Regions from separate parts of the Homo sapiens genome. Here all the other regions are linked to region 5. Evidence: promoter capture Hi-C in 16 types of primary human blood cells and fetal thymus (Javierre and others, 2016). All regions are on one chromosome and are shown on one strand. Each heading gives the region's core, a stretch centred on a gene start or on the middle of the fragment in contact. The rest is flanking DNA. Distances are from core to core; before and after follow the strand shown.

Region 1 (4,059 bases), core at 803-3,302, 1.1 Mb after region 5:
TACCTTTTCAAAAAAAAAAAAACCTATGTAAAAAGTTATATTTTTAGAGAATGTTCCCCCGGGAAACAATTGCTCCCCTAATCCCTCCCCACCATGAAATGAAAATATGCATATCAGGTTGGCATACTGTGAAAATCCCGAGGACTTAAAGTCTGTAAGTTCCAGACCTCACCAGGCTTGAGAATTTCTCTGCCCTTTTTAAATTTTATTTCCTTCCCTTACAGCCTTCCCTTATGTGTGTTTTTTTTTCTTTCTTGGCTCCAGTCTAGAAAATTATATTTTTCTTCCTAAGATATCAACATGTCTTTTCGAGCCTCCATTCTATACTTAACTTTTAGTCCTTCACGCCCCAGTATTCTTCACCCAGAATCCTATCAGCCACCTGCTCCCATTTCCTATATAACAAAGATGGTATTCCCACCACCAGGGATTCCTGGGCTCCCAGCCCATCAGGGGTGCCATTACAGGGAGCCCCCACTCATAACCATGTGATCACAGGAAGGTCTCAGGATTAGCTAAGGACTCTGAATTAGCTAAGAATACTCATGCCCCATAACACTGATGTAAATCTGAAACCTCAGAAATATGGTAAAATCTTTCAAGATTAGCTATGGTTTTAGAGATTTTGTGTCCAATGAGTGGATTTGTCTGCCTGATGTAGAAAAAGGAACGGTAATAGCTAACACTTAATAGCTCTCTATATACCAGGCACTGTTCTAAGCATTTTAGATACACTGACTCATTTCAGGATGATACCAACTCTATGAGGTGTTGCTATCTCGATTTTATAGAGGAGGAAATTGGGGCTCAAAGAGGTCAAGCAATTTGCACATAAATCTCTCAGCAGTAACTGGTAGCACCAGGATTCAAATTTGGGTAGTTTGGCTCCAGAGTTTGGCCTCCTAACCATCATGCCACACTGGCTGCAAGACCTAGGGTAAAAGGGTCTTGGGAAAACTCAACAGATTACCCTTTATGGTAGAAAGAGCAATGATAATAAAGTTAAAAATCAGTGGTAACCCAGAATAGCTGAGTGATGTGGAGCAAAATACTTAACCCTCTTCACTTCAGGTTTTTTATTTATAAAATAGGGAAAACTAAACTAACTCACAGGATAAACGTGAGGATTAAATAAGAGCAAATAAGTATAAGAGAAAGGCATATTAGTTAGGAATTGTATTCCATTGCTTAATAACAGATGCTAGAAATGAGAGATGTTTCAACAAGATAAAAATTTCTTCAGCTCACACATATTTTTAAAATGTCCAGAGGTAGGCAGTCCTAGGCAGCTATAGCTCTACAGTGTCATTAGGGATCCAGATACCTATCTTTCTCTACAATTCTGATTAATAGCGCATGGCTGCACCCTCAAAGTTGCCTTATGATCCAAAATGGCTGCAGCAACTCCAACCATTATGTCTGCTTTCCAGGAGAAATAGGGAGAAGGAGTTAAGGAATAGAAAAAGTCTGGATTAGCTGATGTCCTCCCCTTTACAGCACTTTCCCAGAACCTTACCCAACAACTGTATACATTTTATTAATTAGAACTACATCACATGACCACTTCTAGCAGCAAAGGAAGCTGGGACATATGGCCTCATTACTGAGCATACAGCCATCAGAATGAAATCAGGGTCTGTACTAAATGAAAAGGGGATATGGATATTGGTTAGGCAACAAGCAGTCTCTGGCCATAGAAGGAAACTAAATTTCATTGAGCATCAACTCCCCGCCAGACACTTCACATAGATTTTCTCATTTGACCCTTGTAGCAATCAAGAAAGATTTAAATGTTGTTACTACATTTATACAGAAAGAAATGGGATCGAAGAGAATAAGCAACACCATTCTTCATACAGGGAAACAGATTTAAAACAGATCTAACTTCAAAACTTGAACTCTATCCATAACATCATTCAGCCTCCAAAGTTTCCTCTAAGGAAAAGTATTTTGTAAAAGTTCAAGCATCATGTGCCACGTATACCTTTAAGACTTCTGTTGTATTAATACTTGAAATTATGTCTCAGTTACTTCCCTGGAGAAAGCAACGAACTCGCTTCAATTATTTTGTAAAAATAGAAATAAAACTGCGTATCATTTCAGTTGGTAGAAGAGGAACAGTCACTGAACATATATATATCCTGGTTACTGATGTGTCCACGTTTTGAAAGCATTTCCTGGCCTTCCTCTCCAACAGTCAGGATAAACAGTCAGTAAAGGTCATTCTGCAGAAGGCCGACTGTCACCCTGAGTAATATCTATCCCTCGTGTTTCAACCCCTTTTCCTGCAGCCACAGATTGTTTATATTAAAAAGAGAAGATGATCTTTATGTTTTCTCTCTTCTTGACTCATTTTGAAAGGAGGTATGGCAGAGAACATAGAGGAATTGCATCCAAATCCTATAGCTACATTTGCATCCTGGGTCCATTCCAGAAATCTGAGTGTTAAGAGAGTGAGGAGGTGCAAAGCAAGGAAGGAAACAGAAATGCTTGAACCCCCATAAACAGGCTCTTCAGCATTGTGTTTATTCTCCTTCCTCCAGTTCATTTTCCTGCCCTAAGGAGAAGACAATCCTGATTTGCAAAAACTAGGAATAAATTGTTGTCTTTGCACTTTTTTTCTACAATGTGACCCTCGGTGCATATAGACACACACCTGGATTATAACAGGCCTTGCTTTGCAGGGCCCTTTGAATGGCAGATACAGAGGCTGAGCATTCAGGCACCCAACATATTATGACTTCTACGGCCTTTTCAAGTGACCCAGAATACTTGCTCCCCCCAGCCCCCACCAGCAACATTTCTTTTGGAAGACCAAGTCATTTATGCCACTTCCAAGATACCACAAATTACCTATGAGTATTCTTTCCTGAGAGCTGGTTTTGATTTGATAGAAAAGAGAAAATGGAAACAGCACAATGGGGACAACACAAGGGTGGGAAAAGACAGCCTGGTGGCTTCAAGATGAACTTTCTTACCTTACAAGTTTTTCTAATGGATTAATGTAGCAAAAAAAAATTTATACACTTCACACAGCTTCTCTGAAGGGAAGAGACTTTTGATGGCTTAAGAAAATGGCACAAAAAAGACTGGGGGAGATGAGGTATTTTCAAAGTACAGAATGCATAAGGGTGGTGGGGGGTAAAGGTGGCAGATGAGACATGAGAGAATAGGCATCTGACAATTGAGAAGAAGAAACTTTTGGGAGTCAAGAGGGAGAATCGAAAGGAGGCCTAAGGCTCCCCATCCACCTGCTACACAGCATCTCCTAGACCTGGCACTAAATCACAGCTTTTCCAAAGGGTGAATTTGTACTAGGGGCTACCTGGACTTCTAGCAGTGAGATGAGGGCAAAATTTAACACAAGGAAATACAGGAGGGAGTCATTTCAGGTCGGTAACATAGAGGAAATAGATTGGTTGGACTCGTTCCACCTACATTGGAGGCTCATCAGTGGGGTTTGTGTGTTTTCTACAGCAGGTGAGAGCCAGCCCTGAAAGATGATGGGAAGTCAGAGTGGAAAGACCTAACAATAGTGTTCTACAAATGTATCAAAGCTACAAAGGAACAGTATTCTCAATGTACCTTTGATATATTTCAGTGCTGTCCTAAGACCCAGGTAAGAGGGGTCCTGCCTTAGATACCCAACTGTGCCTATGACCAGTTTATATCAGTCAAGGAGCCTGCACAGCCAAGGTGAATCACATCCCCCTTTGATACCACTCTCTGGGTCCTGAAGACTCTGGAGTTTCTTGCCCAAACATCCCAAGCCTGCTTCCAGGTCTTATGTGGGCTTCCTCCCAGATGTGACCTCTTAAGAATAAACTGCACAGCTGGTGTATGCCACTTAACCCCAAGAGGCAGCTGTTTGGAGGAGGAGTGGATAGAACTGGAATGTGGGCACACAAGGCCCATTCAGGTATTGATTGGAGTTGATTCCAAGAAGGGAAATGAATGGGTCAGGTCGGAGATGCATTCTCCCACACTACACCATTGTAGTACTCCATAGAGATTTTGAGAAGTCACAATTTTAATCAGACTTTCCAGTTTATTACTAAG
Region 2 (4,058 bases), core at 173-2,672, 1.1 Mb after region 5:
TGTGAAGGACCTCTTCAAGGAGAACTACAAACCACTGCTCAAGGAAATAAAAGAGGATACAAACAAATGGAAGAACATTCCATGCTCATGGGTAGGAAGAATCAATATCGTGAAAATGGCCATACTGCCCAAGGTAATTTACAGATTCAATGCCATCCCCATCAAGCTACCAATGCCTTTCTTCACAGAATTGGAAAAAACTACTTTAAAGTTCATATGGAACCAAAAAAGAGCCCGCATCGCCAAGTCAATCCTAAGCCAAAAGAACAAAGCTGGAGGCATCACACTATCTGACTTCAAACTATACTACAAGGCTACAGTGCCACATTTTCTTAATCCAGTCTATCATTTTTGGACCATCCATCCATCTTTCCATCTATCTATCTATCTGTCCATTCATCTATTCTTTCATTCGTGTGTCCAATCTACCACCTTACTCGTTTCATTAATGTGTATTGAGAACTTTGCTCCTGTGCAGAACCCTGGTTAAATGCTGTGGAGGATATGGGCAGTAAGTTAGATATGATCCCCACCATCAAGGAACATCTCCTTTAATGGGAGAGATAAAACATATGTACATTACATTTAAAAAATCAGTGAAAATTTATTTATAGTCCGTTTCACCTGGATTATAATTGCAACATATTATGAATATGTTAAAAAGTTGAGGAAGACACAGTCTCTTTATGCTTTCAATAAGCTTACAGTGTGTGGCTGGATTAGTCAAACACTAAAATAATTACGATAAAAGGCACACTATGATACATGATGTGAAAAAGACACAAAGAAAGTGCCTTGGAAATGAGAGGGAAGGTAATATATTTATTTGGATGGGGTGAGGGAGAGGGGAAAGTAAACCTCATGAAGAAAGTGGATTTGAGTGGAGTCATGAAACATAAACTAGATTAGGAAAGATGGCGATAATGGAGAAGCAAAGAAATAGAAGAAGGACACTAGGCCATGTTTAAGAAAGAATAAGATACCCAGTTTAAATGAAGGATAGGGTAATGTGTAGAGGGGAGTAATGGGAGAGTGGAAAGTTTGGAGTCAATGCAGAGCCATTGAAAGTTGTTGAGTGGGTGAGTAACATGGCAGGATCTGGGATCTGGGAAGATTAATGTGCAACAATTCCAGTAAGTAGAAGTCACTGCAAACATGTTCACCTGCTTCATACTTCTACTTCCACTTAGAAAGACTCCATCTTTCTAAACCTCATTTCATCCCACAGAGAATGAGGGTGTTTATCCTGCCTTGTTCCCATTATAGAAGAAGTCTAAAAAGCAGATAAAAACTAATTCCCAATAACATGCTGGTGCTGTCTCAAGGGAATTATATTTTAAAACAGAATCATTGAGAAGGGACAATGTTGCAAATAATAATGGGTCTTAGATTTTAGTTAAAGATGATCATCACAGCATCTGTGAAAATCATAGGAAGGACAAGGTTTATTTTTAAACACTATGTAGAAAAGTGTTTTTCTGTTCGTCCCAAGGTTAATTGATTATCCTACTATCCCATATCTACTGGGGTAATGGGTAAGGCAATTTAAAGACATGCCAAAACCCCAACATGCCTTCAGAATAATCCAAAAATATTAAATGTTCAGTGGAATTTTTCTATTAATGTATTTTATTGTGTTCAAATTTTTGGAAAATTGCCACCCTGTATGTATACATTATGCTATAAATGACAATTTTCTATAACTAAGTTATTTATTAATTAGGAAGCTAAGTAATATTTATAAAGTTAATTTTCTTTTTCTTTTAAATTTCCTACCATTTTAATCAAAAAAAGAAATCATTTCATAATCACGTGGTAAGGATTTTCACCAACCTGATTAAAAGCCAGAGTGCAGGCTGATTGATAGATAAATAAAAGTATGCAAAGTCCCAGCAAGTAGCTGCCTTAGATGAACCAAAGGAAAAAAATTTAAGTATAAAGTGTAGTCTGATTCTTATAAACTTCAATACTGCAATATAAGACATTGTTTTCCCTATCAAATTCACAGATTTCGGTAAATTTTACTTTTAACTTAATTCTTGCCTCAGAATTAGTTATTTGACATCACTTGTAAAAGACATAAAAATAATGTTTGCTTTGGCCTCATCATTAAGGATAAAACAAATTAATTTTAATTAAGCTTTGTATCATTCAAATGTATGCGATCTTGTGACCTGTGTAGTCATTTCCTTCATTATACTAAATCTTATTGCATTATACTATTAAATCTTCTACCTCATTCCAGATTATGCATTAATTCAAAATAAAGTGGCATGCTTCAAGTAGGAAATCAAAGGTTCTGATTATTGCTACAGACTAACTTATAAATTTAGGACCCTCTAGTGCTTGCAAATAAAATGAAGCTGGCACAACATCACAATAAAATGTGTTAATCTAATATTCTGGAGTTAATTTTCTATTAACAAAATTGCTTTTAGATAGATATGTCATCTCACATCCTCAAAACAACCCTGCAAGTTGGGGATTATTACTTTATTTTATTAACACCATTACTATTTTATAGGTTTGAAAACTATGCTAATCAACTTCCCTGAAGTCATAGCAGCTAGTAAATGATGAATTCTAGGGTCTTATAATTTAGTATTTCACATTCTTTTCACTGTATTGTAATTATTTCAAAAAATCTTTCTGCATTTTCCCATTTTCTGCTAGGTTAGTGGTTCTGTAGAATCCTACATATAAGTCTTCTAAAAGGGACTATTATTTTCAGTAGTCCCCAAACAGCCATATACTAATCAGTGCACTCTGCCTAGCTCTGGGGCCCTCAATAAATGCTCATAACCCCAATAAATGTTCTCTGAATAAGTGAATTCATCTGCATCTAGACTAAATATGCTCACTCATAAGAATTCAATCATTTTCTAGGAAGGAGGAACATTTTGAGTATAAATACACACATATATGCGTTTGTGTGTATGTGTGCGCACGCACGTGCATGCATGTGTGCACATACCAAATCACCTCTCTCAATAAATTACCACCAAACCCCTCCAGGGGTTAATCAGGACCAAATTTGTATGAAGTGTCAAACTATAATTTAAGGATCTCTGATGTTCATGAACCCCACAATTACTTTTAGTGACTAAACTGGAGGTGCTGACAGCCACATAAAATCTCTTGTTTTATCAACATCTCTGTAAAATACAGTGGAAACTGCACCTGCAACTTGAATTCCTTAATCTGTGTTGCTTTTCTCTCTCTCTCTCTCTCTCTCTCTCTCTCTCTCTCTCTCCATCTCTCTCTCTCTCTCTCTCTCTCTCTCTGGACAATACAGCTCCATGTGTTGCTTTTTGAAAAGCTCTAATAAATGTCAATGATGTGTTGGGCATAGATTATAGGCTTCTTTCTTCTCATAGAAAGATACTACTAACTACTGGCTGAAAACCAGCAGCGTGTCATTAACTAGGATTGTTAAGCCATGGCACTGCTTGCCACTTCAGACATAGGTGTTTATGAGGAACGAGAAGCTGAGCCTCTGTGTGTTCTTGGAAATCCATTCAGTCCCACAAAAGGTCACTCATAAACAGCACCAAAAGCTCACTCATAAATCAGAATCTGCACATACAATTGTATGGAAATGCAGTCGTATTAGCCAGGGTTATTTGAGTTGCCCATCTCTTCAGGTATATGAGTCTCTGAAATTAACCTATTGACTCAATTACTAGAAATTTGATAAAGGGCAGTAAGCACTGAGGTAGGTATTCTAGAACACAGCTATCCAAAATAAACACAATGTGGGTCACTAGGTAATTTTTAATTTTCTAATAACCACATTAAAAAGGACAAAAGAAAAAAGTAAAATTAATTTTATCAATATATTGTACTTAAACCAATATATCCAAAGGAGTATCATTTTAACATATAATCAATATAAAAATTATTGAGATGCTTTACTTTTTTTAGTACTAAGTCTTTGAAACAGTGTGTACTTTACAACTTCATCTTAATTTGGACTAATCACATTTCAAGCACTCAAAAGTTACATGTGCCCAGTGACTGTCATACAGAGCCTTGGATAAGGAAAAGATTGAATGGAA
Region 3 (3,544 bases), core at 767-3,266, 1.1 Mb after region 5:
AGCCTTAATTCTGCCATCAACATATTAGAGAGGTGCACAGAGCCCTTGCTCCTGGAGGGATAGTTCCTTCCCCAGCCTCAACACTACCCGCCTCACCCCTACAAACTGCCTCAGAGAAGGCTCTGGCCAACATCACCAATGACCTCCACTTTTCCAAATCCAGTGGTCTATTTACGCTCCTCACATTATCCAAACTGACTGTCTACCTTACCCTAGGAAAGCACCACAGCTAATCCCACAGCCAGTGTCCTTATTTCTTATTTCACTAAGAAACTAAAAGCAATTAATACAAAATTGCCTCATTTTCTTATCAGCAACTTTATCAACCTGGCTTCAACTGTACTGTATACTGTGACACATCCCAATGACAAAAAATAAGCCATACTTAATCCTACCTAAGCCCAAACTCTCCACTTGATACTGATTCCATCCTCTCTTTGCTATAACAGTTATTCCCTCTCTGCCCTACATCTTCAATTTTACCCCTTTCTATGGGATCATTCCCAGCAGCATATATGCATACTGTAATACTTCCTTATTAAAAAGCAAAACAAAACAAAACAAAACCTCTCCTTTGTGTTCATTCCACTTCCAATTACTGCTCCATTTCTCTGCTCCCCTTTGGAGCAAAACTCCTCAAAGGATTACTATACTTCCTGCCTCCTCTTTTTCAACCCACTCTCTCCCTCTCTCAATCCACTCTAAGGAGGCTTTTAATTTCCACCTCTCCACTAAAATTGGTCTTATTGAAGACAATGACTTCCACCTTGCCAAATCCAATCATTAATACAGTCCTCAATTCACTTGACCTCCAGCAACATTTTCACAGCTGATTCCTCCACCAGGCTGGAGTACAGAGGCATGGCACAATCTGCTAACTGTAACTTCCAACTTCTGGGGGGATCCTCCCATCTCAGCCTCCCAAGTAGCTAGGATTCCAGCCATGTGCCGCCATACTGAGCTAATTTTCTTTTTGCTTTTTTTTTTTTTTTTTTTTTTTTTTTAGAGATGGGGATCTTGCTGTATTACCCAGGCTGGTCTCAAAGTCCTGGCTTCAAGCTATCCTCTCCCCTTGACCTCCCTCTTTGCTTTCTTCACATACCTTCAATAAAATCCATATTCTCCAGGCTATTTTGTTTGTTTTTCACTAAGACAAGGTCTCACACTGTCACCCAAGCTTGTTTGTTTTTCACTGAGGCAGGGTCTTACACTGTCAGCCAAGCTGGAGTACAGTGGTGCTGTCCAGCTCACTGCAGCTTCAATCTCCCGGGCAGAAGCAAACCTCACACCTCATCCTCCAGAGTAGCTGAGTAGCCAGGACTACAAGCATGCACCACTGTGCCCTGCTAATTTTTTGTTTGTTTTTTGTAGAGACGAGTTCTCATTACGTTGTCCAGGCTGGTCTCTAACTCCTGGGCTCAAGCAAGCCTACCACCTTGACCTCCCAAAGTGTTGGGATTGCAGGCATGAGCCACCACACCCAACCTACTCTCCAGGTTTATTCCTAGCTCAGAACATTTTTCTCCTCTTCCTCATCTTTTAGTGCTGAATGATGCACCAGGACTTATTTTTTCCTTCATTTTAAATTTTATGTATTTATTAGAGACAGCATCTGGCTCTTCTTACCCAAGCTGGAGTGTAGTGGCGCAATCACAGTTCACAGCAGCCTTGAACTCCCCAGGACTTCTTGTTTGGCCCTCCCTCCAACTAACAGAGACTAACCCTATAGATGATCTTATCCAGTTCTAGGTCATGCCATTTACTCAGATGACGTCTAACCTCTCCCCTGAGCTCTGAACTTATATATCCAACTGCCTACTTAACATTTCCTTTTGGATGTGTAACAGACATCTTAAATCTAATAGGACCCAAACTGACCTTCTGATTCTATTCACTTACTCTTACAGCAGGCTTCCTCCATTCAGCAAATGACCCAGTTTGGGTCACATACCAAATCCTGTGATCCACAGGGGAGAGCTCCCCAAATGAAAGAGGATGTTGTTACCAGAAGGGAGATGGGAAAGTCTGCAGGGCAAACCAAAAGCAAGAGTTGTCAAGCCCATTACTAACCCAGCTTCAACTATCCTTGCCCACTCAGCAGGCCACTTTTGCCTCCTGGCTCACTGAGAAAATTAAGACTATTTTACCTACACCTGCATCAATTTTAATCTCCTTTCCTCCAACTCGAAGCCAGCTCTCCACCTGAGCACTTGCTCTTGTTCCTTCATTTTTCTTCATTGGTACTGCTCTGTTGGTAATCTCCTTTTCCTGCATTTTTGTCTTTTCTCCCAGCTGATGCTCTCCTGCTAGCCCACAAACATGTCAAATCTGCACCATCCTAAAAAGTTTCAAACTTCTAGCTCTTGTGTGTATTTACCCTCCTGTTCTCTGTCAGGCTTCTTCGAGATACAATCCTTACTCTCTGCACTTGCTTCTCATTGTACCCACAATGTCACATCAAACTGGCTTCTGTACCCACTGCCCATCTGCTTCCAGGGACTTGAATCACGCAAAGCACTTCTCCACTCTCAACCCACCTTCTCTAATACCCACACCATTTTGGCATTATCACTTTCTCTTCTCTCCACCAAGTGCGGACCTTTGATATCCAGCACATAAAGTCATTCAAAACGAACAGAATGATTGGATTCTCAAAATAATAGGCCAATCAGCCTTGGAATAGCTGAGGAGTATTGCTCCAGTGTCTTCATGGATTAGCTGAGAAAAATATCATATAAACTCTTAATTTGCATTAAATTTATAATAAATATGACCACTAGAAATAGTAAACTCAACATAACTGACAAACTAAAAATGTACATAGAGAATTTTTAACAGATTTATTTTTAAGCTTGATTGAATAATCACATTTTCTCAATAACTAAAAATTGACATGGGGAAATATTCATCAAAAGAATATGAAACTAGCCACAACTAAAACTTCATATGGTAAACAGTTGACAGACAAGTCCTTCTTGACTAAATTTGGATCTGTAACATTTTAATTGGGCAAATTGGGCTTGGTTGTCATAATAACCACAAAATGAAACAATATGACAAAAACTATAAACTGGTAAATTGTCCTTGTGAATTTCCCATGAAAAATAATGCTGGTAAAATCGGGGGGAGGAGCCAAGATGGCCGAATAGGAACAGCTCCGGTCTACAGCTCCCAGCGTGAGCGACACAGAAGACAGTGATTTCTGCATTTCCATCTGAGGTACCAGGTTCATCTCACTAGGGAGTGCCAGACAGTGGGCGCAGGTCAGTGGGTGCGCACACCGTGCATGAGCTGAAGCAGGGCGAGGCATTGCCTCACTTGGGAAGCGCAAGGGGTCAGGGAGTTCCCTTTCCGAGTCAAAGAAAGGGGTGACGGACGGCACCTGGAAAATCGGGTCACTCCCACCCGAATACTGCGCTTTTCCGAGGGGCTTAAAAAATGGCGCACCACGAGATTATATCCCGCACCTGTCTTGGAGGGTCCTACGCCCACGGAGTCTCGCTGATTGCTAGCACAGCAGTCTGAGATCAAACTGCAAGGTGGC
Region 4 (4,016 bases), core at 1,026-3,525, 1.1 Mb after region 5:
GGCTTTCTCTACTGAGTGAAGCAAAAATAAGTTGAATGACAATGCCACGTTAAAAAGAGATTATAATGGAACTAACCCTCGACCCATAACTATAGCAGGTTAGATCAGGAGATGGCTGTCATGAGCAGGAGTCTGCAGGAATTAATGACTCTTAAATGACTTCTGGCTTGGCATTTTCATAGTATGCTCAAAACCATCTGCATTGTAAACCAGGACTTGTGTCCCTGAGCAAGACATTCAATCTCTCTGAGCCTCCATTCCTTACTTGTAAAATAAAATGGACTTCTGTGCACAAAAGAACAATTTGAGGAGCCGGGCACAATGGCTCACACCTGTAATCCCAGCACTTTGGGAGGCTGAGGCAGGCAGATCATTTGAGCCCAGGAGCTCGAGACCAGCATAGGCAACAAAGCGAGACCCTTTTTCTACAAAAAAATCAACAAGTTAGCAAGGAGTGGTGGCATGCGCCTGCGGTCTGAGCTACACAGGAGGCTGAGATAGGAGAACCGCTTGAGCCCAGGAGGTCGAGGTTGCAGTGAGCCATAATCGCATAACTGCACTCCAGCCTGGGTGATGGAGTGAGACCTTGTTTCAAATAATAATAATAATAATAACTTCGGGAGTTTGTTTAAAATGTAAGCTATCAGGTCTCATTCCCAGAGATTTTGATCAGTAGGTCTTGAGCAGGAATCTTATTTTCTAGATATACTTTCCAAATTTCATTCCACAACATAAGATGTGCATGAGGTTTTGTTTGTTTTTTTAAAACTTTTTCATTTTTATGGGTACATCGTAGGTCTATGTATTTATGGGGTCCATGGAGAGGTTTTGTTTTTAATTTTTAAAATTCTACCTCTATAATTCTTCCTTAATTTTTAAATATTATGGAATGTAGTATAAACATTTTCTGTTGACAAAGTATGCAAAAGTTAGCTGTAGATTTGGGCAACATACATAAAAAGAGAAAAAATACAAATGCCTTTTAACTTAATATGGAAGTAGTCCCTGCTTATCTGCAGGGGAAACACCTCAAGACCCCCAGTGGATTCCTGAAACCACAGGCAGTACTAAACCTTATATAGACTATGTTTCTTCATATATATACATACCCATGATAAAGTCTAATTTATAAATTAGACACAGTAAGAAATAACTAATAATAAAATAAAACAATTATAACAATATACTATAATAAAAGTTATGTGAATGTCATCTCTCTTTCTCTCTCTCTTTCTCTCTCTCAAAATATCTTATGTGCTATACTCACCTACTGTCAGACTGCAGTTGACTGAGGACAATTAACACTTCAAAATGAAAACCTCCAATAAGGGGAGACTATTATAATTTTAAGTCAAATATTCCAAGAAAATAATCCCAAGAGCACACAGAAGTTTTGTACAAAGATGCTCATGAGCAAGTCATTTTAGTGGTTAAAATAAAATAAAATAAAACTCTGAACTTCTGAAACTTGACCTCTGATCAAACTGCCAGGCTAGACCTTCCCCAACGCAAACTCCAAATGAAGCACATCTGCCTCATTATGTGGTATTGTAGGTAGAAAACTATTGAAAAAAATAAATAAATAAGCACCCTCAAAGTGACAAAAACAGAGCAACGGTTAAGTAAGTGATGGTACATTCATAAAATACAATATTATAAAGTAGTTAAAATTGTCAGTATGGATACATTGCAATAGTATATTATTCATATATAAGTTCCATTAAAGCTAAGTTACATGAAAAAAATAGTGCAAACATTATATACACACACACATACACATTGCCACACCCACACATCCTCCCTACCCACTATAAACCTACAGAACAGCACGGGAGAACAAAGCCACAGGCTGCCCACAGAGTGATCCTTTCTTTTCTTTTTTGCCATACTTGATCTGAAACAAATAAAGTTATTTTTCCAAAGAAGTGGTGCAGTGAAAGGGTCCACCCACCTGTTTTAATAGGTTTCTAATTATTTAAGTGTGATAAGGCCAAGAAACGACATCACTGAAAAGATAGAGGTCACACAAGAAACCAGGACCCCCTCAGGAGGCAGAGGGAGGGGGATCTGTGGATGAACGCCTTTTTTGTGGCTTACAGGGAAGGAATTTGCGAGGCAGGGTCAAAAGGCATAGGATGGACTAATTGGAATAATTTCAGTGGGCTCTGGGGCACAGGGGCTGTCCCTGCTTGTGTGATACTGGTCCTGGGGTGATCGGTGTGGGTGGACAGTAGCCAGCGGAGGTAGTCGAAGCGTGGGCCAGTCGCCTGTCTAGGCAGGGAAACTGGCCTCTAGACAGGGCCTCAAAACTGGGTCAAGACAGCATTTAGAAAACAATATTATAACACCTGAAAGAGGTTGCAAAATAAAAGTCATTACTTGAAATTCTCTAACACTATGGGTTGGGGAGGGGCGCACCCAGAGACTACAGCTGTGATACTATTTTATATATATGTTTTCATCCAAGGTTTCTGGCTCGTAACTCCCATAGCGCTTGTGACAGTGTTTTGTTGTAATGTTGGAGCACTTTAGATCCCAGAAGCAGGCCTGAGAAAATACAATCTCTCTCTGACCGTCTCCTGCCCTCCTTTCACCTGCTCCCTTTTTTTCCCAAGGCAGGCCTTAGGAACTAAAAATATACTCTAATTGTTCCCTACCTTTCTGTCTTGCACTGGCCAAAAAGAAATTCCCTGACCTACCTTGTCTGATTGCAGGTCATAAGACCCCATTTCAGAAGAGGTCCTGCCCCATTCCCAGGAGGAAGGAATGCTGCACAGAGAGGCCAAAAAGAATCTGAACAGACAGGCCTTGCTGGGTTTAGAGCATACTCTTCTTATCCAATCACATTTTGACACAGTTGTCTCTGCTTCAATTATGGACAATCAATGCAGCCTCCAAAAGAGGCCCAAAGGACAGGGTTCGAGGGCTTCCGGGGCGCTGAACACATGGAGGCTGGCAGGAAGGCGAAGAACTCACCCACCTGCTAGAGCAGGGGCACGTATCCCAACTCCACAAGGACAGCAGCTCCTGCACTCAGGACCATTCCAGACCTCACCCTATGCATGTTTTCATGTGGCTATTTATTTGCATCCTTTCAGATATCCGTCATAATAAACTGGTAAGCATAAGTGTTTCCCTGACTTCTGTAAGTCACTCCAGCAAATTAATTAAACTCAAAGAGGAGGTCATGGAAACCCCAACTTGAAGCCAGTCAGTCAGAAGTTCAGAAGGCCTGGACTTACGACTGGTAAGAAGGAAAGAGTGGTCTTGTGGGACTGAGCCCTCAACCTGTGGGATCTGATGGTATCTCCCAGTAGACAGTGTCAGATTTGAATTGGAGGACGCCCAGCTGGTGCCTGCTGCAGAAGCGATTGCTTGCTTGGTGTATAAGGGAACCCCCACCACCACATTTGGTCACAGAAGTCTTCTGTGTTAATTGTTGGGGTGTGAGAGAAAAGGAAAAACAGAGTTTACTCACACTCAACAGCAATACTTAAAATCTTTCCATTTATTTTCTTACCCACTTCTCTCACCTACCGGATCGGCTGTTCTCAAAATAACCTGAGAAACATCTCCAAACCTCTGGTTAGTTTCTTCTCCCCAGTTGCTTCCTTCATTTGTCCCCAGAAAGGCTGAGAACAAGTCTGGGAGAGTAAGATCCTCCTGACGGGGGCAAATGAGGGAAGAGACTGACCCTTGAAAGCTAAATAAACTCTGCCAATTGTACCAATGCCAATGTCTGGGTTTTGATAATGTTCTATAGTCACGCAAAATGTTACCATTAGAGGAAACTGGGTGAAGGATACACAGGACTTCCCCATATATTTTTGGTAATTTTCTGTGAAACTATAATTATTTCAAAATAAAAATGTAAAACTGAGACATAATAATAATAAATGAAATTTAAAGATAAAAGTTTTTTAAAATCTTAACCTATCCCAGACCTTTTTTTTTTTTTTTCATCAACTCAGCCGTTTAAGGAAGATAAGTAACAAAAAGTGTATTCAATACTCCAG
Region 5 (3,609 bases), core at 396-2,895:
GAGGCTTAAAGAAGTTAAGTAACTTCCTTACAACCAAAATGTGACTGAATGAGAATTCAGGTAAAAATTTCCCCAAAATATTATTTATCCAAATATCTGTAACATGCTACTAAGTGCATCAGTCAGAAAATTTGTATAGCTTGATTAGCTCTGAGGTTCTCGAAGGTTGGAAATCATATATTATTTACCTTTGTATTACCAACACCAGCATTAGACACAGAATGACTAATCTATTAGACATTTGTTAATGAATGAAGTAATCTCCTTATGGGATAATAATAGTAACAATGAGAAGAAAAATAGAAATTCACAAAGTGGTGCTCTGCTTTCAGTGAGTTTTCATGAAAAGTTTAATGGTAATGAACGTTCATAAATTTGTCCAAGGTTAGAATATATTAATATGCAAATATTTAATTTGACATTTCATAAAAGAAAATTAAATAAGATGTGCAGCTAATTTATACAATTTTTTGATAAAAATACAGGGACAAGCACCCCAGATGCAGAAACATTTTAATCTCCTTGGAATTTTTGGGAGTAATATTGAGGTTGAGAACTGTATGGTCCGCCACATAAGATTTACAATCTGCAGGGTCCCTCCTTTATAAGGCCAGCCGTGCTTGTGTTCAAGGACAAAAGTTTAGCCAAATGACTTTAATCATTAGGACCTCATTTCCTGTCTGAAACAGATGAGCACCAATTATCTGCAAGATATTTTATGGTATACATGGTTAATGATTTAAGAAGTTATTTGCCAGAATATTTGAAATAAATTTACAAAATACACTTTAAGTATTGATTGAAATTAATCAACTTTTTGAAAGATACTAGGCCTGCAACAGAAGTCACGGTGAGGGTTGAGGAAGGCTAACTATTGTCACTTCTGTAGCTGAGGATAAGGCAATAAATTACTCTCTTAATTTTTAAGAAGAAAAGGCATTTTTACCATCTATGTTATTCTATGTAGAGTAGAAATTCTGGTACATCCAAAATATTAAAATTGTTTGTCTAAGAGATATTTACCAAGATAAAGACAAGAAGACTTTTTACAGAAAAAGAAATGCATCATTTTCTTCGAAATAACATTAGAGGAAAAAACCTGTGAGACATGAACAAAGACCTACTATAATGAAAAACATATTTTAAACAATAACCATTCAAATATAGTTTAACACTTAAATAATGTTCACTTTGACCAGTTTGAAAGAAGACTCTGTTTTCATTTTGGAAAGCAGTTCCAACAGGTTACCTAACAATTTGACATTTTTCTTAAAATCGCAAATTGTTGAGAAACTTCAGGAATTTTCAAGTAAGAGAATGCCCTGCTGTTTGGAAACAAGGTAACAGCAAAGCATAATCATATTGTAAAGAAACATTAACATCACTCTCAGTTTGTAAATTGGGTTTCCCCCTTACAGCTACGTAAGGCATTTTTTTCTAAAAACTGTAGTAAGATAAAAATCATTGATTAATTAAAGACAAACTTGTTTCTTATAGTGTTTAATCATCCAAATACCTTAAATCAGGTTCTTACTTACCTCAAGATTGGTGTGTCAAGCTCTCTCTTTTGTTCTTTTGGTTATGTTTTAAACCTGCATTGGGTTAGAACTTGTTCCTCTTTTTCACTTTGGTGGGTTACTTCCTTCTTTCCCTCCTTCGTTCACGCTATTTAATACTTGCAAAGTTTCCTGGCTCTAGAGGAAGTCAGTATCAGATGCAGCAGAATTAAGATAAATGGCGTGAGGTTTTGAATAAGGAAGTCTGGCCCTTCATCTTTGTCAAGTAATAGTTTTTTAACTGTGTCAGAAAATAATACGTAAAGCCTACATGGTTTTTTATTTGGGCCATATTTGCAGTTCCCACTTTAATATCAATAAAAGTCACTTCACTTGTACTTTGATTTTTTAAAAAAAGAAATATTTTAATTGTAGTAACACATAGGTCTTGGGCTTTTATTATTATTATTATTATTTACTTGTGTTGCTAGACCAGTCCTCTCTTCAAATATTAATATTATGTACCAATGCTCCCAAGTTATAGCCATACAGGTCAAATCAGTGTCCCAATTTGGGTTTGGAAAATGTTAACGTTCTTTTAAATTTATAAATAGGAATTTCCTAAGGTATGTTTTGAGGCCCATTACCCCTGAGATATGCTAGCAGCTCTTCCATCAAGTAAATGTGGGGAATACTGCTTCCCTGGAGATTCATGGGTACATCAGCATGCTAAAGGCTCTCAGCAGTCTTACAGCCAGCAAACAAAATAAAACCAAATAAGAAAAAGAAATTGTTTAACTTTGCTTAATAATAGTAGTCAGTATGTTCCTAGCACTAAGTACTCCAAACCTTTTGTGTAATACTCAGCAAATCTTGGCAACAACCCTGTGAGGGAGAAAAACTGTTATTAGTCCTATTTTACAGAAGAGGAAACAGAAGCACACAGAATGATCACTTGCCCGACAGAGCCTGCAGTTTGCCCCCAGCACCTGTGTGCTAAACCACTGCACTGGCTGCCTTGCTAGATTGAGTAACATGTTTCCCACATAGATACGCTTACCAAGAGCATCTCTTGGAGTCCAACTCATGGGAACACACACAGTGGGAGATGCTGAATTAGACAAATTACAGATGAATTCGACAGATGAGATGACAAAGTAATGGAAAATTTGTCTTTTAAGTTGTCTTGGAACTTTTTGAACCACAGAGGATTAACTTTGCATAAGGTGGTTTTAAAAAAGAGGATTTAGTTACTGAAATAACTACTGGACATTGGAAGGACAGGACGTATTATTAACACTTGCTGAGCACTGACATTATGCCAGGCATTGTGCTAAGAGATGAGGATGCAAGAGTGAATAAGCTCCCTGCAGCACTTAAAGCCAAGTAGAGAGGCTGCTGCGCCCACAGAACATTTCAGATCAAAGTGATAATGCCTAAGAAAGACAGGATTATGGACAGGGACAGTGGAGGTAAAGGAAAGAGGCATCCAGCTCAGAGGGTGGTCAGGGAAGGCAAGACCTGAGCTAAGCCTCATAGAATAAGGTGTTAAGGCAGAATAGGGGTGTCCTGGACAAAAATCTTACAGTGAAGGAGGTTATGAAGTTGTGAAGCTATGAACTTGATGTGCTCCACATTCTCACCACTATATTTAACTTCAGTATTAGCCACCCCTCCAAATAATATACACACTCACCTGCCTAGGCATACATCTGTAAGAAAGGCAATTTATACAATGTTTGTATAAAATTATGATTTTCTCTAGAAGGCAGGACAACTGGTGCTCATTCAGCTTTTGCCCTTTGAAGTTAAAAAAGTTGCTTAACCCCTTATTACTTTAGTTTTTCTAACGGAAAATAAAATGGAGGGAAAATGACTGGCACTTTCCTCAAATAGAATTTTTTTGATGTAATGGATATAATTATTCTTCAAGTTTATAAAAGAAATGCTGTATATATTCAAAATAGAATTATTGGATCATTGTCATTTGTAGGGATTATGTTTTATGTCTTGAATTCTATATTTTCCTACTTCCCAATCTTTGGCCTCGCAAAATACATATTTATTGTCTCCTTTCAGTTCCTTTTTAATCACAGCAATTATGTCTAGGTTT
Region 6 (3,914 bases), core at 262-2,761, 1.2 Mb after region 5:
GAAAATAGCATTCTAAAAAATACCATAGATCATCAAATCTAAGGAGTCAACAATTTGTAAAGCACACCAGTATTGTATGTGCCACTAAGAAAGAAAAAAATAAAAAACACTGCCAATCAATGACACCAACTCCTTGTTTCTTTGAAATTTCTTTGATTTATTCCAAAGGATTTGGGAATTCCTACTTCCTTTAGTCACATTGCTCATCCTATTATAGGCAATCCTTTTGCACATATCTCAGTAACACATATAACACAGTTCCAACTACTTATGAGTATCTTCCTTTTTTAAGTCCCATAAAGCCCTTTAAAAAATATGGAATTTCCTCCATTCTGCCAAGATGGATATTTGCTTCACTGACATCAAAATTATGCTTTGCTGCTCTGTTCCATGCCTCTGTGTAAATAATGACTTCATTCCAGAGCTGAATCATAATGTAAACCTACCGAAATACTTTAAACACCATTGAATAGTACCAACAACAAACATAACTCCATTAAAATGAGGACTCCATGACCAGCAATGAATGACCAAGTTCACACATGCACAAGAAAACACCCACAGATGCCAAGCCAGTAGCAAGAGTAAAACATCACCATTTGCAAATCTCATCCTGATTTCAGAGGTGCTAAAATATGTGTGTGGGGGGTACATCTTAGAAATATTAAAATATGATGAATATTAAAATATACCTGCATCTAGCTGGTTAGTGCCCTAATAACCAGGGTACATTTTTAAAACATTTGAGCTTAGAGAGTATGTGGGTGGGTAGGGTCCCAGTAGGAAATAGATGGCAGACACAAAAAGGGGTGATTTAAAATAATTTCGATGAAGAGACTATTTATCAAAGTGTGGGCAGGATCAAGGGAAACCAACAAGCACCTCTGGGCTAGAAATAGCAGAAAATTGCTACAATCCCTGACCTAAAGATGTAAGAGGAAAGAGAGGTCACCTGAACCCAGAGAAACCAGCAATGTAGAGGAGGCCACCACAACAGGAGCTGTGGCCTTTGGTAGAGGAAGGTGGCTGGATAGGGAGGAAGCAGAAGGAATACATATCCTGACCTCTCACTCTGTCTGTCCTCCAGTCTCCTGTGTTTGGCCACATCATCCAGCAGTCAGAAGGGATGTGGTCCGTGGAGGTCAGCCCCCAGCACAGACAGCAGGGTAGAGAACAAAAAGGAGGTGGAAGACAATGTCCAACATTGATAGTTTTAGCTTAAAGTTTAGTATTCTATGGTGGCCTTGCATGAATTTTATGACCAAAGTAGATATTTCATAGCCCCTGGATGAAAATGATAACAATAGCAAGGACCTGGGAACTTGGAACTTGACTGCCCATTTGTCTGACTGTTGGATTAGATCCAAATTTGTGTTCTGAGAAAAATCTTAACCCTACCTCTGGCTACTCCAGTAATATATAAAGATGACTGAGATAGAGGTAGGCAGGCAGGCAGGTAGGTAGAGAGACATAGACACACAAATACAATCTGACCTCACCTTGTAAGGCAGCTCCAAGTGGCTATGGGAAGAACTGCCAAAGTTAGAATAAGGTGGGCTCAATGGCCTTGAAGCCAGCTTTGCACGTAGATGAATAACAATGTGCCCTGAACTTGCTGTGCGCTAGACACTGGGCCAAGTGCATTATATTCAGACCGCAATTAACCCTCACACAACCCTCTGAAGTAGGTACTATGGACTATTCCCACTATACAGAGGTTTAAGAATAACAGCAAGCACAAATGTCTTTTAAAATAAACTGGATTATATCACTTTCCTGCCGAAAGTGCCTTCTGCACTTAGAAGAGACTCTAAAGTCCCCATCAGAGCCCACACAACTTCATGTTATAGGACTCCGACCTGGCTCCTGGCTTCAGCTCCTCCCCAGACATCCTGTTTCACAGGCTCCAGCTGCACTGAGCCTCCTTCACTTCCTTGGGTGCTCCCAGTTCATTCCCTCCTCAGTCCCTTTGCATAGGCTGTTCTTGGTTCTCATATTGAATGCTCTGCTCCTGTTGCTGAAGGCCAGCCTTCTCATCTTCTATCAGCTCGATGGTCACCTCCTAGAGGCCTCCCCTGACCAACGTGGGTCCACCTGCATCCCCTGCCTTTTTCCTCTCTTAGGCCCTTGTTTGTTTTCTTTGCAGCATTCCACCATGTGTGCAGGTGTATATGTATGTCTCACTCCCACTAGGACATGAGTCCCCTGAATGTAGGAAGTATATCTGACTTGGTCCTCTTCCCAGCTCACCCCAGCATCACTTTTTCAGCCCCTCAGTGTCCTTTGAAATCTTTATCAAAATTTGCCATTCTTTTCTTTTCTTGCTACTTATTCTTAGACTGTTTCCCTGCAAGAACCAAAGTTCCTTTGTTCACCACCCTATCCTCAGCACTGGAAATTCTCCCTGGCAAGTTGATAGTGAAATATGCCCAAGGTCTTGGGATCACTGAATGAGCAGGATCTGCACCCAGGTCCTCTTTCTCCAGAGCCCTCCCCTGCTTCAGCTCAGGAGACTATGTTCATGAGACTTCCTCACCCTGCAGGGAAGCAGGATACAAATGTCAGGTAGTCTGCCCATGTGGCCTGCCCCTATGGATGAGGAACAACAGTCACACTTCTATCTCCAGTGTCCCCCAGCCGAGTTGGTTGAACTAACTAAAAAGGCACTGAGCCAAAAAAAGGAAAACCCTGCACCTTCTCTTCAACCCCAGCTATTCTAAGCTGCATGGAAACTGGTTATGTTTCTCCATTAGGCAGAAGGGGTGGCTCCTGTCAGCATTAAAAAGGCACAGACAGAGGCAGCATCATTACCCCAAGGTATCAGGCTCTGGTCTTCCTTCAGCTTTCCCTCCTTCCCAACATCATTAATTTTTTTCAGTTTAATCACAAGAAGAAACAGGATGTATGAAGCCCCAAACAGCATTGTCTCCTTCTCCTGGGGAATATATCACCATTTCATTTGTATAATGTACTGAGGCTTTCACGTACATCCTTCCTCTGGTGCTGCCTTCTGCTTTTCTCTGCGTTTCTAACTCCTCCACCACTTTCTTTCTGCCAGGGAATTTGTTCAGTGTAAGCACATGCACACGTGTCTTTTAAAGCACAACTCTGGCTGCATTCCTAGCAAAGGAGGAAGAAGCCTTTGTGGCCCAACTAATTCAACAGGATTCAATTACACATGGAATATTTATTAAGTGGGAAGAAAGCAGTGGTCCAACCATTTGTTATTAATCCCATGATCTGTCACCACAGACGTCACTTTATCCTCAAATGCAGGAGTGGTTAATAAGCAAAACTTGGAAACTGTTTTACAAAGGAGTCATAGACACACATCATTTATGCCTCATGATACAGATAGAAAATAGGCTTTGTGGGAGGGGGAAGATGACAAGCAGAGAAGTAGCACAGGGCACATAGTTCCCTGAGCCCTCATCCCAAAAGCTTTGGCCAGGCGTATGTAAGTCCCAAGCCCATGGTCAACTGTTTTGCCTTCTTTTATGAAATGTTCAGCCAGGTCCCCACCACAAGAGGAGACAGAGGAGAGGCTCAGGAAAACAAAGTGCATTATACTCACAGGTCTTAGAGACAGGAGCTACAGCAGGCCACTCAGGGCCACAAGGAAAGACACCTGGGTGGTCAGGAAGCAGAAGATAGAAGCAAGTAAATGGTTTATGCTAGAGTCTTTATTGAAGTTTCCATAGGAAAGACAAACTAGGATTGGCTAGTTTGAATAATTTCAGCAAGCTGTAAGCTATAAGCATGTCCCTAGTTGCCTGGTAGCTGGCCCTGGGATGATTAAGGCAGAGGAATATTGCTTCCTGGGGTGCATGGACCAGATAGAGGAGATATGGCCCTGGATTGGGCAGTTGGGATACCTAGGGCACACTCCCAGTTGAGCCCTTTGCTGTATCCCA
Region 7 (3,862 bases), core at 442-2,941, 1.1 Mb after region 5:
GGGGTACAGAGAGTGCATAGGGGATGCCATTGCCTGTGGCCACTTTGTCCTGGAGCTCGGCCAACAGCTGGGGGTTTGCCTTCACCTAGGGATGTCAGCAAAAGTGCACCTTGAGGTCGTTCTTGGTGGTGAAACGATGACCACAGACAGAGCACACGAAGGGTCTCTCTCCAGTGTGGGAGCGGAAGTGGATCTGCTAGGAGCTATCAGTCCCGAAAACCTTGCTACAGCACTTACACTTGTGCTTGTAGAGGACGGCATCATCTTTCGATTTGACATCCACCACGGAGATGTCCGGTGGCTTCCCTTCCCTTCCCTTGGTTGGGTCTAGCGCCACAGTGGAGAAAGGGCTCTGGAAGAGCAGCGAGCCCGGGGCCTGAGGATGTAAAGCACTGGGGAGGCAGAACATGACGTTTGGGAGCAGCCGGGTCCCATCCGGCTTTGGAACAAAGGGCGTCAGCCCTGGGGACAGGGAGCTGGTGGCAGAAGGGATGCCGGCGTGAGGTAGCTTGGCTTGTTTCAAGGCGTCCAGAGACAGACCTTGGCTTCCAGCTTTCTGGCTGAGCAAAACCACAGCTGCAGAAAGCTGCTGGGACATGTGGCTGCCCAAGGTCTTCAGGGTGTCGGCCCCGCCCCGCTGGAGTGCAGGCGCGAGAGGCTAATGTGTTCACCGGGATGCGGATCTGCTTGGTGAGCTGGGTCTGCTGTAGCTGCTTCTGCTGCTACAGACACAGTATCGGCTCGAGGATGCTGTTGGCGCCAGGCACAGGGGCAGGCAGGGCATCTGCGCTCCGCCGATTCACAGCCACCTTGGTGCCCCATAGTGCCTGCAAGGACACGTTAGTGTTGGCCACTTTGCCTTTGGGTAAATATCTTATCTACTCGGGGGTGGGTGACAGGGCCGTCTCTGTCTTTAGATACGGCCAGCTTCTCCTTCATGTCCCCTGAGCTGCTCCCATTCTCCCTGTGGCCATCCTCACTGCTTGGACTGGGTGGCTGGTGGCTCAGTACAGCTTCAGAGATGTCTTCTGAAGGCACTGGACCCTCGCCATCATTCATGATGAAGACGGGTGGATTTTTAGTGCAATTTTTCTTACGTTCCAAGAACTCAGAGATGCTAAAGAACTTTTCTCATAGACTTGAGTTTTCTCATAGACTTGCGTTTTCTCCCACCGAGCACCAAGCTCCCCCGCCGCCGACACCGCGGGGGCCACATCTACAAACTCCGGGGGGGTCGGCTGCTGCGGCTGCTGCTCGCCCTGGTCCTCCTCCGAAATGATGTGCTGGGATTTCGCGTGCTTGGGCCTCGACATGGTGCGAGCAACCAGGCGCCAGGAGAGCCGCAGTTATTTGCTCTCTCTGCCACAAATTCCAGAGTTGGGAAATTTACCCACCTTCCCAGCTCATTTTCATTCTGACTTATGTGGACACTCCCTCTATCCCCAGAAGAATACTTTTCTGTACTGCCAAAAATATACTGTGATTTGAGAATCTTTCTTTAACAAAATTCAAGTGCTTATTAGCTTTCCATCATTGTACAAATCTTCCTGTCTATGGCTACCTTACCGACTCCAAGCTCCCGCCGCAAATCAAAAGTATAAGTATTAGAAAAGTAAACCTATAAATATGACAAAGATGTAAAATGGCCAGTTTTGTCATAGGCCAGTTCTTAACATTGAAAATCCTTCTGCCAGTGTATTTTATTTTCTGCTATTCTCTTACATTTGTTTTTCACGAGGACCCATAAGAATACAGAAGAAGAAAACTTAGATCCAAAGGACTCTCAACCAACAGTGGTGTTGGGACACTATTTAGTTTTTTCTACAGCTGGAAAAGGAGAGCTCATGTGGATTTTCACAGCTTCCTTAAAAATGCAGGACTATGACTCCAAGCTCTCAAAATATCTGGAGGGAGAGCTGTGAGCATACTGGAGAATTCACTGAGAAATCTGGGCTCAAAGGAGAACAAATTATCATTCCCTAAAAAGAATAGGAGTGGGCATCTGGGCACTGGTAGCTTTCTTTCTAAGAAAGAAATTGTTCTGCTTTTTGAGTAAGGCAAGACAGAGCCATAGGTGAAACTCTATACATACCACTAGGAATGAATTAAACATTTATATCAGATATGCTATATAGCGCATCTCTATAAATATATTTATTGATTATCCTAAATCATATTATTTTAAACAGTCAAGGGTTTTAGTTAACAAAGATAAGTTTTTTTTATTCTACATAGAATAAAAGACTAGAATTCCTTCTTAGGTAGTATCCCATTCCCACGTGCCTTACAAGTTGGATCTTGGAAACCATGATGCTCTTACCACTCCTTTGCTGGTGCTGGAGACAATTGCAAGTGCAGCTACTGAAAGGAAAATTTTAACTGTGAAGCATCAAAGTTGCCTGGATCTTCACAGCTCTGAAGCAGAATCTATTGTTGTTTTGTTTTTGCTTTGTTTGTTCTGTTTGACAACATTTAGACAAAGTTTAAGAAGACAAAAAAGTAGACAAAAGACAAAGACTAACAAAGGAAATCCAGAAAGACCATCCAAAACAAAGACTCTCTAGTTCCAAGTCTTTTTTATTTCTATATAAACTCGAGGCATTCAGTCACTAGTCTTTTATACTTGTGTCTTCTTGACTTGAAATAAAATGTGTCATGCTAAGAATCCAATTACTTGACCAGAGACAAAATTTCATTAGTCACCAAAGAGCGATAAAATACTGCTATGTTCAAGGAGGTTCAAACATGTTGTCATCATTGCAAACTCAGCAACAGTCTAGACTATGTAACCTCTTGTTATCAGAAATCAGTCAGGGAAACTCCTGGAAGAAATAAATCCCTCATATGGCTTCAGTCCCACCTCACCTCTCAACACCATCATGCTCTCCACTGCAATCATGAGTTTTATTTCAGTTCTTCAAATACCGCAAGACTTCTCTTATGTCCAGGTCTTTGAATATGCAGTTGCTTCTGGATATAATATTCTTCTACTTATCACTTTATTCATTCCTCTTTCAGATCTCATATCAGTATCACTTCCCTTAGGGAGCCCTGCCTGGGTCCCTCTCACAGCATATCACCTAGCAGAGCACTACTGCATTAATAATTCATCACTTAATGTGTACAGGCCTTGCTAGACTCTGCATTTCATGGAAGAAGGGGCTGTCTCTATTACCACTCTATCCCTGAAACATAATACAATTCCTGAAACTCAGGGTCACTCATAAAGATTTATTGAATAAATAAATTGACAGAACACTTAGATGTGCAACTAAGACATAATATAACATCAAATTAATATAGGACAATTCTATATGGGCTGGTGGGGTCAAGAGTCAGCTAGTGACCACAAGCACAAAAACAGCTAAATTTCCACAAGTCCAAAAGCAAGGAAACTCTTTAGCCCTTGATGTCAAAAACCAAATATCAATTTGGAAAATTGTGCCACTAAATCAACCAAGAAAGTTGTTTAAAATGCAAGAAATGATCAACTATAACTCAATTTAAGGAAACTCCAAGAAGTTGTGTGTGAAGCATTTTGGTTTGTTCTTGGTTCACTTTCTTTCTTTTTTTTTTTGAAACTGAGTCTCACTCTGTCACCCAGGCTGGCTGGAGTGCAGTGGCGTGATCTCGACTCACTGCAACCTCCAACTCCAGGTTCAAGCAATTCTCCTGCCTCAGCCTCCCGAGTAGCTGGGATTACAGGCATGCGCCACCACGCCCAGCTAATTGTTTTGCATTTTTAGTAGAGACGGGTTTCACCATGTTGGCCAGATGGTCTCCATCTCTTGGCCTCATGATCTGCCCACCTCAGCCTCCCAAAGTGCTGGGATTACAGGTGTGAACCTCCACGCCCTACCTC

The links. Contacts are between HindIII fragments. The CHiCAGO score rates a contact against its expected background, and 5 or more counts as called.
Region 1: a fragment that was not itself captured here is called in contact with the fragment with the promoter of GAPT in region 5 in 1 of 17 cell types (non-activated CD4 T cells); the score reaches 5.1 in non-activated CD4 T cells.
Region 2: a contact is called between a fragment that was not itself captured here and the fragment with the promoter of GAPT in region 5, in 3 of 17 cell types (naive CD4 T cells, fetal thymus and total CD8 T cells). The highest score is 9.0, in naive CD4 T cells.
Region 3: a fragment that was not itself captured here is called in contact with the fragment with the promoter of GAPT in region 5 in 3 of 17 cell types (naive CD4 T cells, total CD4 T cells and total CD8 T cells); the score reaches 7.5 in naive CD4 T cells.
Region 4: a contact is called between a fragment that was not itself captured here and the fragment with the promoter of GAPT in region 5, in 4 of 17 cell types (naive CD4 T cells, non-activated CD4 T cells, naive CD8 T cells and 1 more). The highest score is 6.6, in naive CD4 T cells.
Region 6: a contact is called between a fragment that was not itself captured here and the fragment with the promoter of GAPT in region 5, in 1 of 17 cell types (naive CD4 T cells). The highest score is 6.8, in naive CD4 T cells.
Region 7: a contact is called between a fragment that was not itself captured here and the fragment with the promoter of GAPT in region 5, in 5 of 17 cell types (activated CD4 T cells, naive CD4 T cells, naive CD8 T cells and 2 more). The highest score is 7.1, in activated CD4 T cells.

What each region holds. Positions count from the first base shown.
Region 1 is chr5:57,436,540-57,440,598 of GRCh38, reverse strand. The region is part of intron 1 of RMEL3 (enriched in melanoma 3); the gene reads right to left. Among named protein-coding and RNA genes, the nearest start is that of RMEL3, 43 kb to the right of the region's middle. The HindIII fragment of the contact is 5,886 bases long and covers 1-4,059 here.
Region 2 is chr5:57,373,940-57,377,997 of GRCh38, reverse strand. No RefSeq gene overlaps it. Among named protein-coding and RNA genes, the nearest start is that of RMEL3, 19 kb to the left of the region's middle. The HindIII fragment of the contact is 1,440 bases long and covers 703-2,142 here.
Region 3 is chr5:57,357,105-57,360,648 of GRCh38, reverse strand. No RefSeq gene overlaps it. Among named protein-coding and RNA genes, the nearest start is that of RMEL3, 36 kb to the left of the region's middle. The HindIII fragment of the contact is 1,674 bases long and covers 1,180-2,853 here.
Region 4 is chr5:57,394,700-57,398,715 of GRCh38, reverse strand. It overlaps RMEL3 (enriched in melanoma 3), which reads right to left and starts at 3,609. Exons shown (of 4, transcript NR_186596.1): 1 at 3,538-3,609. The HindIII fragment of the contact is 8,479 bases long and covers 1-4,016 here.
Region 5 is chr5:58,489,471-58,493,079 of GRCh38, reverse strand. GAPT (GRB2 binding adaptor protein, transmembrane) reads right to left here and starts at 1,645. Exons shown (of 3, transcript NM_001304431.2): 1 at 1,539-1,645. The HindIII fragment of the contact is 6,945 bases long and covers 1-3,609 here.
Region 6 is chr5:57,331,815-57,335,728 of GRCh38, reverse strand. No RefSeq gene overlaps it. Among named protein-coding and RNA genes, the nearest start is that of RMEL3, 61 kb to the left of the region's middle. The HindIII fragment of the contact is 3,865 bases long and covers 1-3,443 here.
Region 7 is chr5:57,419,917-57,423,778 of GRCh38, reverse strand. The region is part of intron 1 of RMEL3 (enriched in melanoma 3); the gene reads right to left. It also overlaps the pseudogene SALL4P1. Among named protein-coding and RNA genes, the nearest start is that of RMEL3, 27 kb to the right of the region's middle. RefSeq lists an enhancer at 2,074-2,243. The HindIII fragment of the contact is 5,113 bases long and covers 1-3,862 here.